3 separate regions of the Homo sapiens genome follow, and all the other regions are linked to region 2. The links are contacts of gene promoters, found by promoter capture Hi-C in blood cells and fetal thymus (Javierre and others, 2016). All regions are on one chromosome and are shown on one strand. The core of a region is centred on a gene start or on the middle of the fragment in contact, and the rest is flanking DNA. Distances in the headings are between cores, read along the strand shown. Region 1 holds the start of PKIA (cAMP-dependent protein kinase inhibitor alpha). Region 2 holds the start of SNX16 (sorting nexin 16). Region 3 overlaps RBIS (ribosomal biogenesis factor).

What was found. The method cuts DNA at HindIII sites, captures the fragments that hold promoters and counts their contacts. A CHiCAGO score of 5 or more calls a contact.
Region 1: a contact is called between the fragment with the promoter of PKIA here and the fragment with the promoter of SNX16 in region 2, in 2 of 17 cell types (total CD4 T cells and fetal thymus). The highest score is 8.1, in total CD4 T cells.
Region 3: a fragment that was not itself captured here is called in contact with the fragment with the promoter of SNX16 in region 2 in 1 of 17 cell types (activated CD4 T cells); the score reaches 5.2 in activated CD4 T cells.

The regions. Positions count from the first base shown.
Region 1 is chr8:78,514,100-78,518,193 of GRCh38, reverse strand. It overlaps PKIA (cAMP-dependent protein kinase inhibitor alpha), which reads right to left and starts at 1,854. Exons shown (of 4, transcript NM_006823.4): 1 at 1,726-1,854. All of the region lies in intron 2 of LOC105375911 (a long non-coding RNA gene), which reads left to right. RefSeq lists an enhancer at 1,180-1,289 and a silencer at 1,610-1,909. The HindIII fragment of the contact is 11,771 bases long and covers 1-2,277 here.
Region 2 is chr8:81,840,142-81,844,022 of GRCh38, reverse strand. It overlaps SNX16 (sorting nexin 16), which reads left to right and starts at 1,838. Exons shown (of 8, transcript NM_152836.3): 1 at 1,838-1,901. LINC02235 (long intergenic non-protein coding RNA 2235) reads right to left here and starts at 1,404. Exons shown (of 8, transcript NR_170320.1): 1 at 1,352-1,404. RefSeq lists enhancers at 1,154-1,423, 1,855-1,904, 1,832-2,764 and a silencer at 2,235-2,284. The HindIII fragment of the contact is 7,243 bases long and covers 1-3,611 here.
Region 3 is chr8:85,215,046-85,219,030 of GRCh38, reverse strand. It overlaps RBIS (ribosomal biogenesis factor), which reads left to right. Exons shown (of 4, transcript NM_001099673.3): 2 at 1,529-1,645. The coding sequence starts at 1,532. Among named protein-coding and RNA genes, the nearest start is that of RBIS, 3.3 kb to the left of the region's middle. The HindIII fragment of the contact is 429 bases long and covers 1,883-2,311 here.

The DNA.
Region 1 (4,094 bases), core at 605-3,104, 3.3 Mb after region 2:
CCCTCACCCTATGCCTCATATACTGAAGATGGAGACAAAGAAACAAATTCAAATCTTTCTAAAGTGCATTTTGTAAAAACGAAATTTGTAATAGAAAGGCAATAATGATATATAATATGATTAACACGATTTTCCATACTAGTGTCTTTGCTTAAAAATAATATTTGAAGAGGAAAGAAAGAGGTAAAATTTTAAGCTACCAACTCTGCCCCTCTTTTTCATTGATCTTCTAATTTAATTTACTAAAATAAAATTGCATGGCTGTTGAGTCAGACAGTCTCTGTAATTTTAAGTTTAAAGATAACAGATCTTCCTTTAAATAGAACATTGGCACACAGATACCCCACAATCTGGCTTATTGCAACTGTTCTCTGTTGGTGAAGTGGCACGTTTGCAATCCCCATAACAGCCATCTTAACCATTTCACAGCATATTATTCAAATGTACATCTCTAGGTGGCAACAAGGATAGGCACTTGGGCTCAGTAGCAAGGGGTCTGTGGGGAAAATCCTAGGACGAGGGATAGGAACCTGCAAATGGCAAGACAAACTAGAGGATACTCAACCAGAGGCTTAGATTGGGCAGCTCCATTGGCTTTCTGACTGCCTACGAGGAAAACCTCACTGGAAACTCTTTTGAGGTTCTTGAGGAATCCTAGAGGCAAACGGACTCCTCTGCCTTTTGGAAAGGATTTGTCCCAAATCTTAACAGCTAGCTGTCTCAAAATCCAACTGGACTAAAATTGCTTCAAGAAAAACTGGATGGACTGGCATTCACATTTTTACTTCTACCTATGCCTATGCATAGGGAACATCCCTCACACTCCAGTAGATTCTATCTGTCCTCTCTAGCTTTCAAGTAGCCACAGTGACTACAGCGAAGGGAGTTAATGGGATAACATGTTGGTACAGGGCCACAAGCAGGATATTTCATTCCATGCATTTGGGGGAAGGACACAGGTAACAGTATACAGGGAGAATACCGAATAAGAAATCTGTGTGAGGCAATGCCCTTTTTGGGACCTTGACAAAATCAGTCATGGAACCCAGGTGGTGGATAAGAGCTGACGAGAGTTGGTCTGTGAATGGGCACAGCATCTCCGAAAAAGATCAATGAAATGATTGACAGAGAAAATGGCAATTGAAGGAAGAAGCGATGTCAAGTGCTGCTCAACCCAAGCTGAACTCCAGGAGATAAGAGAAGTTTCCCCTCCAGATAGAGGCTCTTTCTAAAGGTTCAGTCTTGAAGCAGGTGTTTTGCCATTGAGAGGGGCACAGACCCATTCTGATAACTGGAAAGGGAGAGGACCAAGGACTACAGGAAGAGGGACGATTTCTGATTACCTCAGGCTGCTGCCAGGGACCTACTGCTCCAAATCCTCAAAATACTCAAGCGAAGGTAAAAGGCACAGAAAGCAAAAGAGTAACTCAAATTATTTTAAATTTTGAGTCCTCTTCACTGTCTACGCGAATCTGGCACTGAAATGGTAGATCACGTTCAAAAGAGTATAGAGGCAAGAACGCCTTCTTTGTTTGCCCAGTAACACTGCTCCTCCAACCTCTGCACTTGGCCGCCCAACATTTCCATCCTAGTTGTTGCTCCTTTTCTCATTGCAGAATGCAGCGGGGTTCTCCCCTTCTTCCCTCCGTGCTGCAAACCCCATTATTAACCAAGCGGAAAGCTCCACGCAGTGCGGCCAGGGCGCACCGGTGCCGGGCTGCTTACCTTCCCCGGACCTAGTCAGCGCAGGTCCCCGCGCACGCCGCCACGGGCCGCAGTCCCGCCGCGCCCGCCGAGTGCTCGGTCAGCTCGCGCCGGCCCGCGCCCCACCTGCCAGCAGCAGCCTCCGCTCCCGCCGCGGAGCTCCGGCTGCATGAAGTCATCCCCGCCCCGGGACGGATCACCACATTCCGCGCCAGCCACGGGGGGAGCGGGGCCGCTCCCGACCCCAGGGAAGGCAGCCTGGAAACGGCGCTCGACGATCGCTGCCCCGCGAGGTTGTGGATTGATTTTCTATTAATGCTTTTACAGCTGCAGCATCGCTGGATTATGGATTGAGAGAGAAGAGCCAGGGGGGCTTTCTCTGCATAGCGTCCTTCCTCCGAGCGCTCCCCCGTCACCCCGGCTGCATGGACTGTTCCATTTGCCCCTGTGGGTTTCCCACCCTCTTCATCTTCCTTATCAGCATTGTTCATTTGGCTGAATTTGAGAGCAGGAATTGTCTTTTAAGATAAACATTCAAGCACTACAAAAACATTTTAAATTGGTAATGAAGCTTTCTAAGCCCTTCATAGCTCTCTCCATCACCCCCGCCCCCGCCAACAGACACACACGCAAACACACACACACACGCACACACGCGCGCACACACACGTATGCACACAGCCAAACCACTCACAATTTTGAAAGCTAGAACCTTTCGCCCTCTCACCTACGTAATAGAACGGGAATCTCCTAAAAGACTGGAGAAGTGGGGCCAACCAGAGAAAGCGCTCAAAGAAACAGTGGGGTGGCCCCATGATTTTGTTGTGTTTATGGTGCACTTGTGCACAGATGTTCCCTCTAACATCTCTTCCTCCTACTTCCTTTGCTCTGGACCCCCTCCCCTCCCTGCCACATAATTGGGCAAACTGTTGTGGTGACAGCTGTAACATTTGGGAATCAAAAAGCAGAGTCTACATTAGCAAATGACTATCTCTCTTTCCCTAAGGATTTATGAAAATTTGCTTTGGGAATGAAATAAGCATGTATTCATATAAGCCCTTTCCTTCTCTTTTTAAATTAACACTAGCTGTTAACAAGACTGTTCTCTCTCCCCCACCCTCCCGTTTTGCTTCTTTCCCAAATCTCTTCAGGTTTGAGGGTTGAATGTTTAAGGAAAAATGGGACTAAATTTGCTCTCTTTGTAGCTGAGCCAGGGTTTCCGCCTAGCTGTTGAGTCATTTTCCAGTCGGGAGGTTCCTTGACACTAGGGTTCTGTGGAATGGAGTTCCCTCTTTTAACTTGCCTTGCTGTTTGAATTGACCGTCACTTGATACAGGCCAGCTTTACACTATGGATTTGTCCAGCAACCTAAACAGTGCAATTGCACAAGGCCAGGGAAGCACCTTTGCTAAATGAGATGTTTCCATCCATCTATCAGTCCCAAAGTTAGGTGATAATGTAGCCAACAGCTTTCCAACAAAACTTAGTTAGAATTCTTGGTCATAGAATATATGCTCTTTGAAAGCTAGAACAGCTTAATTCATCGCTCTGAGACTCACTTTCATAACATTAGCCCGTTAATATTACCATAGAGCAGGAGATTCTTAATCTGTATAAATGGAATTCTATTCATATACTCCTTTTATACAGATTAAGTATAATGGGAAAAATCTCATTTTTAGTTTCACTAACTTCTAACTGAAATTTAGCATTTAGCATGTCCTTTAAACATAATGTAGGCAACAAACCACAAGAATGTTAGGAGTACCTGGGACTTTGTTTCCAATAGAAACAACAGCTAATTCCTTATTGCTGTTTTTATAGATATCTCTATCACTACACTGATGTTATAATCAAATCATCACTACTTTTTTTATTTAATAGACTATATTTTTCAGCTTTGGTGTCCAGAAAAATTGAAGAAATAATACAGGGTGTTCCCATATATCCCATTCCCAGTGTCTCCTATTGACATCATACAATAGTAAGGTACCTTGGTGTAATTCTGGCATTGCTATAAAGAACTACCTGAGATTGGGTAATTTATAAAGAAGGGCTGGTGGTTCTGTAGGCTGTACAGGAAGCATGATTGGGGAGGTCTCAGGAAACCTATAATCATGGTGGAAGGCAAAGGGGAAGCAGGCAGGGCCTACATGGCTGGAGCAGGAGAAAGAGAAGGGGGAGGTGCTACACACTTTTAAACAACCAGATGTCATGAGAACTCACTACCACCAGAAAGCCAAGGGGGAAGTCCTCCCCCATGATCAAGTCACCTCCCACTAGGCCCCTCCTCCAAAATTGGGGATTACAATTTGACATGAGATTTGGGTAGGGACACAAATCTGAACCATATCATTGGGTTACAATCAATGAATGTATACTGATACATT
Region 2 (3,881 bases), core at 589-3,088:
AGGGTTGCAACTGCCACGCAGCAACTGCCACGCAGAAAAAAGAGGGGTTGAAAATGGAGTCGCCTCTGATATCAGTCAGCATGAATCAGCCTTAGGTCCCCTGTTTCCAGACCCTATTCTCCTACCTAACATTGTTTCTACAGAATTCTATTTTTATTTCATTCACACTAAAAGGGCAGAATCTCTTAAACCAAAACCATCATCATGTCACAAACCAGACTATTTTCCAACCTTCATTTCAAAATGACCACTATCACCTTTTCTCACTCTTAGTCGGGCAGTAGAATAGGGTCCGGAGGCAGGGAACCTAAGGCCCATTCACGCTGACTTCCTAGAACTAAATCAAAAGGAAAACTCCAACTTTCCAAGCCCAAGTAACAAAAAGACCAGAGGCTATTCCCTTTGCAACCCCCTGCCCAACCTTCTAGGCCCTTGGTATCTGGGCCTAGTCTTCATTTCCATAGGAGTACAACTTTGTAACTTAACTTTAGCCTCTGATTGGTTGCAGGCTACTCCTTAATTTACAGAGGGTGTAAACCAAGTAACCAATGGGAAATCTCTAGCGGATATTTAAACTCCAGAAAATCCTGTAACCAGGGCTCTTGAGCCACTGGCTGGAGGCCATTCCCACTCTGTGGAGTGTACAGTCATTTCAATCTCTGCTTTCCTTGCTTCATTCTTTCCTTGCTTTCTTTGTGCGTTTTGTCCAATTCTTTGTTAAAAAAACCAAGAACCTGGATGACTTGTAGTCAAGACCCTCCATGGGTAACATTGGGACTATACAAAAGCCTTAGAAATCGTGGAATGATTTTTCAACCACATTATCTGATTCTAATGATGAACAGACCTGTAGACCGGTCTGAATCTTGGGATTTGCCTATCAAAAAACTCGGCTTTCCCTACTGCACAGGTCTTCAGAAGCGCATGTCTAACAAGGCTAATATTCCATCATCGGGATCAAATTGCTCACCGGATAGTAAAAAGACACTACAGAATTTCAGGGGTTCTCTGCCAATGAGAACTTCTGAATTATGTAGAACGGATCAGCTACTAAGCAGTGTTCTATCTTCCTACTCTTCTAATCGATTGTCATCCCTTAAAGCGCTGCTAATTCTAGAAAACAATCTATAACCTGTTAGAATCAGCGCAAGCTGGTGATGACTACAAGTCCCATGATGCAAAGTATGAGCACGGACCAATGTTGGTCGCAGTTCCTTCTGGGAATTGTAGTCTTCTCCTGTTTGGCAAACTAGGTATTGTAGCCTCCATTTCTCAGAAGTTCAGTTGGAAAACTAAAGATAGTGCAGAGAATGTCGATTTCCTGCCACAAGATTACATTTATCTTCGCTACCTGAGCGCCCAGCCGATCAACTCCAGTCGCTCCTCCGGTGGGCGGGCGCCCATGCCGTGACATCACTTCCGGCAGAGATGTGTGTGTGACGCTCTCTCTCTCTCTCTCTCGCTCTCGCTCTCTCCCTCGCTCGTTTTCTTTCTCTTTCTCTCTCTCTCTCTCTCTCTCTCTCTCTCTCTCTCTCTCTCTCTCTCTCTCTCTCTGTCTCTCGCTCTTGCCCTCTCTCTCTCTCTTTCTCTCTGTCTCTGTCTCTCTCTCTCTCTCTCTCTCTCTCTCTCTCTCTCTCTCCCTCCCTCCCTCCCTCCCTCCCTCTCTCTCTCTCTCTCTCCCCCCCCCCCCCCCCCCGCCCAGTTCGGCCCCTCCTTCCACACAGCAGGGATCTTGGGCCCGGGCAGAGACTGGCTGAGGCGGGGAGCAGCTGCTTTTGGGGCGGGGGTGTCACGTGAGGCTTCTCGCTGCTGAGGGAGGAGGCGAAAAGCTGCGGTTAAGGAGAGTCCGGTTTAACCGTCACCGGGAAGCGCGCTCGTTCGGGATCGCCGAGGGGGCTGAGGTAAAGACTGGGTCATTACCTCAGGACAGGCGGTCGCTGTCCCGGGTTCTCGTACGGGTGACACCTGCAACCTTGATGTCTGGCGGGCGGCAAGGGGCTCCGCGGGAGAGTGGAGAGGCGCCGCAGGAAGCCCAGCCACCTTCAGGCCACCGCCGACCCCACTGTGCGTCTGGGAGGCGCTGGGCGCGCACCGGTCAGCGGAGGCGGGAGAGTCTGTGATCCCAGGGAGCTGCGGGTCTCGCCGCCTGCAGTGCGGAAGACCCGTGACCGGCGCAGACCCCGGCCTTACCTTCCGAGGGTCGAACTGTGCCTGGTATTTGCCTCTTTCCTCCCGCCCACGGGGTTGCTCAGAGTCGGGCCACCTCACCTGAGGTTTTCCAGAGTGAGAATGAACTGAGCGTCCTGGGAGCAACTCCGCATCAGGGTAGAGGCGAAGACGCTCCTAATGAGCACAGCACGTTTTTTTGTTTGTTTGTTTGCTTGTTTTGTTTTTTTAACGCTTGGGTAGCGCTCACATCTTCGGACGTCAGTGGTTGTGTTGATATGTATTGATATGCGACCTCCCCCCAGCCAGGCGGCCTCAGGTAGTAGAGTGGCAAAGGCCAGGTAGATCCCTCGGACCTTGAGAAGGTTGAGATTTCAGACTTACTTGTTTTTGGGGAGGCCGTCAGGCGGAACCGAGGAGCGGTGAATCAGCAGCTAAAGTTTCATGAATCTTTGATAATGGGGAAATGTTGCCGAGAGCCACTTGAGTTAAAAATCTTTTTTTTTTTTTTTTTTGAGACGGAGTTTTCCTCTTGTAGCCCAGGCTGGAGTGCAATGGCACGATCTCGGCAAACTGCAACCTCCGCCTCCCGGGTTCAAGCGATTCTCCTGCCTCAGCCTCCCAAGTAGCTGGGATTATAGGCCTGCGCCACCATGCCCGGCTAATTTTTGTATTTTTAGTAGAGACGGGGTTTCACCATGTTGGCCAGGCTAGCCTCGAACTCCTGACCTCAGGCGATCCACCCGCTTCATCCTCCCAAAGTGCTGGGATTACAGGCGTGAGCCACAGCGCCCAGCCCAGAGTTAAAAATCTTATTTCAGCATCTTTCCAAGTCCAGGTGACTCATTTCTTACCTTTCCCACCAGTAGAGTTTCGTATGAAAAGTTGGGCAGTTATTGTTGTGTGTAGTCTTGTCATTTTGTTGGTCTGTAGTTGTTACAGTTTCTTATGAGTTTATTATTTAACAAAGTAATAGTAAACCATTTCTTCTTTGTGTTATGATACTATTCTGACACAAGATATACTGGTCCGTTTGATAACAGATTCTTGAGTGTAAGTTATAAAGATTTAAATACCCTCAGTTTATCGTAGAGCAGAATTAGTGATGACCTGTAAGCTGTGAAGAACGGTTACAATTTTCACTATTTAATTTTGTTGCATATAAGTTCAGTGTTCACTGGGTTTTATTTGAGTAACTTGACCAAGTGTGTATTTTTAATCCTGGGTTCTATAGAATTATACTATGTAGCATCAAAGCATCTGGTTCATTGTTACTACTCTGTGTAAATCTTTATAGTTTCACTAATTAAATTGAAAGGTAATGTGAATAGATTTCCTCCCTTTCTGATTAAATCCAGAGGTAATGTAAATAGTTTTCTTCCTTTTCTTTTTTCTCTCTTGTACTGAATGTAGTACTGTCAAGATGATAAGCATGGAATAAAGCTTCAGAAGGGTCTTTACCAATCTTTCTCCTACCAACTTTTACATACATGAAATCAGGTTAAAATGAACTTTACAGAAATACTTCACAAGGGAATAAAGTAGAGGAAAAAGGGATAACATGTAACATGGAGTCAAGGAAAAAGAGTGTGAAGTAGTTTTGCTCTCTCTATCTTGCAAATAGGAGTCCTTAAAGACAACTGGGAGAAGGGGTTTGAGGTATGTTTTCATTCCAAATAAAATAATAGTGTCATAAAATTGAAAAGAATACTTTT
Region 3 (3,985 bases), core at 848-3,347, 3.4 Mb before region 2:
CGCATAGCTTGGTGCCAGATAGCCACTGTGCAGATGGCTTAAGCCAGGAGTTGGCAGACTTTCTGTTAAAGGTCGGACACTAAATATTTTGGACTTTGTGGGTCATAGTTATAGCAGGAAAGCAGCCATATCAGCATATGATTGAATGGACATAACTGTATTCCAATTAAACTTTATTTTTTAATTAATTAATTTTTTTGAGACAGAGTCTTGCTCTGTCACTCAGGCTGGAGTGCACTGGTGCAATCTTGGCTCACTGCAACCTTCGCCTTCCGGATTCAAGCGATTCTCCTTCCTCAGTCTCCCGAGTAGCTGGGATCACAGGCATGTGCCACCACGCCCAGCTAATTTTTGTATTTGTAGTAGAGACAGGGTTTCACCATGGTGAGGCTGGTCTCTGCCTTCGCCTCCCAAAGTGCTGGGATTATAGGTGTGAGCCACCGCGCCTGCACTTGGCCTCCAATTAAACTTTACTACAAGGACAGGTGCTTGGCCTGATTTGGTCCATGGGCATAGTTTGACAAACAGTGGTTTGAACAAATGGACCTAGGGACTTCAGCAGTAATCCAGTCCTGAACTAAGCAATACTATACCATTTTTTTGTATAGCTTTTATATTTATACATGAAGTGTAATATCACATAACGTTAGCTCTGATCTAGTCTGCCTGGCTGTAAGTCCTGGCATCTCCTGGTTATTGACAGTGTGACATTGGGCAAATTAACTTCTCTTTGCGTCAGTTTTTTAATTTTAATCTTTAAAATGGGGATAATAGTACTTCTTACAAAGGGTTGTAAGGAGTAAATGAGTTAAAGCACATAAGTGTAGTGCTTGTACATATAATAAAAGCTCAATATGTGTTAACTTAATATTTTAAAAATTATTCCTCATATACATTATTAAAGGCAGATCTGAGAGATGTTTTAAGGTAGAATTTACTGGCTTAATGCATCTCTAGCTACGGAGGAAAGACAGTATCCAACACTTCAAGGCAAGGGCCGTTCACATAGAGGTAATATGGAAGTCATAAAAGTAAATTAAGGGAGAGAGGGAGGTAGGAAATGGAGGATTAAGGACTGATTTTGATGGGATGCACAGGAGAGAAAGTGGGGAGAGTAAAAAGGAATAAAAAAGAAGTCAAGAAGGAGGCAGAATCAGTCTCTAAAGTATGATAGGAACCAGAATAGCATAGTAGTATATAGACTAACAGAAGGATGGGTGGTGAGGTACTGCTGAGAATAACAGTTATTGTGTTGATGATATTAGTGAATTCAACCAGCAGATATTAATTGGATGCCTCCTATGGGCCCATTACTGGGGATACAGGGAAGAATTAGATACATACTCTGTACTCAAAGAGCAGAAAATCTACTAGGAGTGAAAGACTTGGAAATAATATATGCACCAACTTTAAAAATAATCAAGAGTAAGATAGAATTTTTTAGATTTAATTGGTACCTTTAAAAACTTAAAATTGACTTACGGTTCATAAATGTGGGCAATTTAATTGAATTTATTTTCTTTTCTAGACAATGGCCAAGAACAAATTAAGAGGGCCGAAGTCCAGGAATGTATTTCACATAGCCAGCCAAAAAAACTTTAAGGCTAAAAACAAAGCAAAACCAGTTACCACTAATCTTAAGAAGGTGAGTATTAGTTAAGCACTCTGACTTTATTGTTTACAAGCAAAGTGTCATTGTAAGCTACTGAACAGCTGTATACTATTACTTTTTAAAAAGGTTCTTCATTTTTCCTAGAAAGGTAAGGATGGTTTCAAGCATTTGTCTAAAAAAATATAAAAAAAAAGGAAGAAAAATAACCTCCCTTTCTTGAAAACAAATGTTGAAAAGAAATAAACATTTTAACTACAAATGTGTGAAGCTTCAATTTAATAGTTTTACTGAACCATAGAACTCATTTAAAAACCATAGTATGGGAAACAGTTCTTATCTCTAAACTCAAATGTAAGAATGTATTAATAGAGGCAAGACATGGGATGTCAGTGAGCACCCATTCTTTTTCTCCTCAGTAATTCTTGTATCTTTGAAGACATCTGCAATTCAAACAAAAACCTGTAAAATGAAGATAAAAAATATTTATTGAAATGCACAATTTGAAAGGGGTTTCTTTTCTTTGTTTATATTTCAAAATACCTGAGAAATTTCTACAAGATTTAAGAAAAATTTTTAAGAAAATGTTTTCAAGTTTCAGTAGTAGATGGAGTCAGCTCTCCAGGACTCAGTTTAATTATAATAGTCCATAGAAATCTAACATTTCATCTTTCAACTTTCATGAGCTAGCGGAGTTAAGCTTTTTGGTTGAATAGTTTTATGATTTTATAAATGCTAAGAATGAAATTAAGCAGATGATGGGGGTTTTGGGGATGACAGTTTATATAGGACGGTCTTCATAGTTGACACATTGAAACCAAGACTAGAATGACAAAGAGCTAGCAATGCAAAGAGCTAGGAAGTGTTGGGAGTGGTGGGTTCGAGGCAGAGAAAAATAGCAAGTGCAGAGGCCCTGAGCTAGGGAAAAGCTTGGTGTATTTGAGGAAGATTATTTTATTTGGACAGGAGGTACTAGAACTTTTATATATGCCACCAGGTAGGATCTAAGAGAGAGATCTATGGGTAGGCTGCATAAGGTGCAAAGGAGGTAAGGGTTTTGAAGGAGAAATTGTTTGGCAGCAGCAACAGTGAAGAAGAAGAGCACCACCCCTACCTCTGTTAAACTCAAGAGGAGGACTGCGAGGGAAGCTGTCATCAGGGGTCTTCCATTAAGACAAGAAGGTCCAGGAAGGATTCAGAGACGTATTGTTATGTTAGAAGGGACTAAAAGTATTTGATCCAGGTTTCTTGTATAGATGCGGGATGACAGCACTGTAGCCTAGAAAGATTTTGGTCACTGTAAGGATACAGGAAAAAAGCAACTCAGTTTCTCTTACTCTCACTCTCATACGGTCACTCAACACTTCCAATACTAGATTTGTGGGGCAGTTCCCCCACACCTAACAATTCTGCAGATGAATCTTCAGCAGGCAGCAGCTGGGTGTCCTTTAATTAAAATCTGACACTGCTGACCTGGAGATAGCGTCAGATTCCACAGGTTGAGAGTTGAGTCCTAAGCCTCTCCCCAACTTCCAGTGACAATCACAAGTCCCAGATGTTTTACCTGTGCTTCTCACCAACCAGTTATAAATAAGTGTTCCCATGACCCCCTCCTTGGGTTTGATTAATTTGCTAGAGCAGCTCACAGAACCCAGGAAAATACTTTTACCAGTTTATTATAAAGGATATTACAAAGGGGACAGATGCGTAGCCAGATGGAAGAGGTGCAGAGGGCAAGGTACATGGGAAGGGGCATGGAGCTTCCCTGCTCTCTCTGGGCATGCCACTTTCTAGGAGCCCCCATGTGTTCAGCTATCCAGAAGCTCTTTGAACCCAGTTCTTTTGTAGATTTCCGGAGGCTTCATTATGTAGGCATAATTCATTAAATCATTGGCCATTAGTGATGGGCTTAACCTTTATCCCCACTCCTCTGGAGCAGAAAGTCCTAATCCTCTAACCCTGTGTTTTTATCTGACTAGCCCTCCTCCTGAAGCTATCTAGAGACTCCCAGCTACCAGCCATCTTATTAGCATTCAAAAGACACTCTTATCCCTCTTAATACAATGATTTAAAAAGCTGTATGACAGGAAATGAGGACAAAGACCAAATATATATATATATCTTATTATGAATCACAATATCACAGTCACATATTTTAGCCTTCTGAACCATAAGTGTGAGGCATAGCCACATAAATCCCATTTTTTAAAAACCAAAACTTTTTGTCTGTAATTTCCCAATAAGACTATAAGAATTTTTGAGTGAATTATCCCTAATTTGTTGGTAAGAGTTTTTAGATTTTAGATTTAACAGGTTAAGGTTGAATATATCTTATCTTTAATGGTTATGAGATCATAGATTAATGCTTTTTTTCTT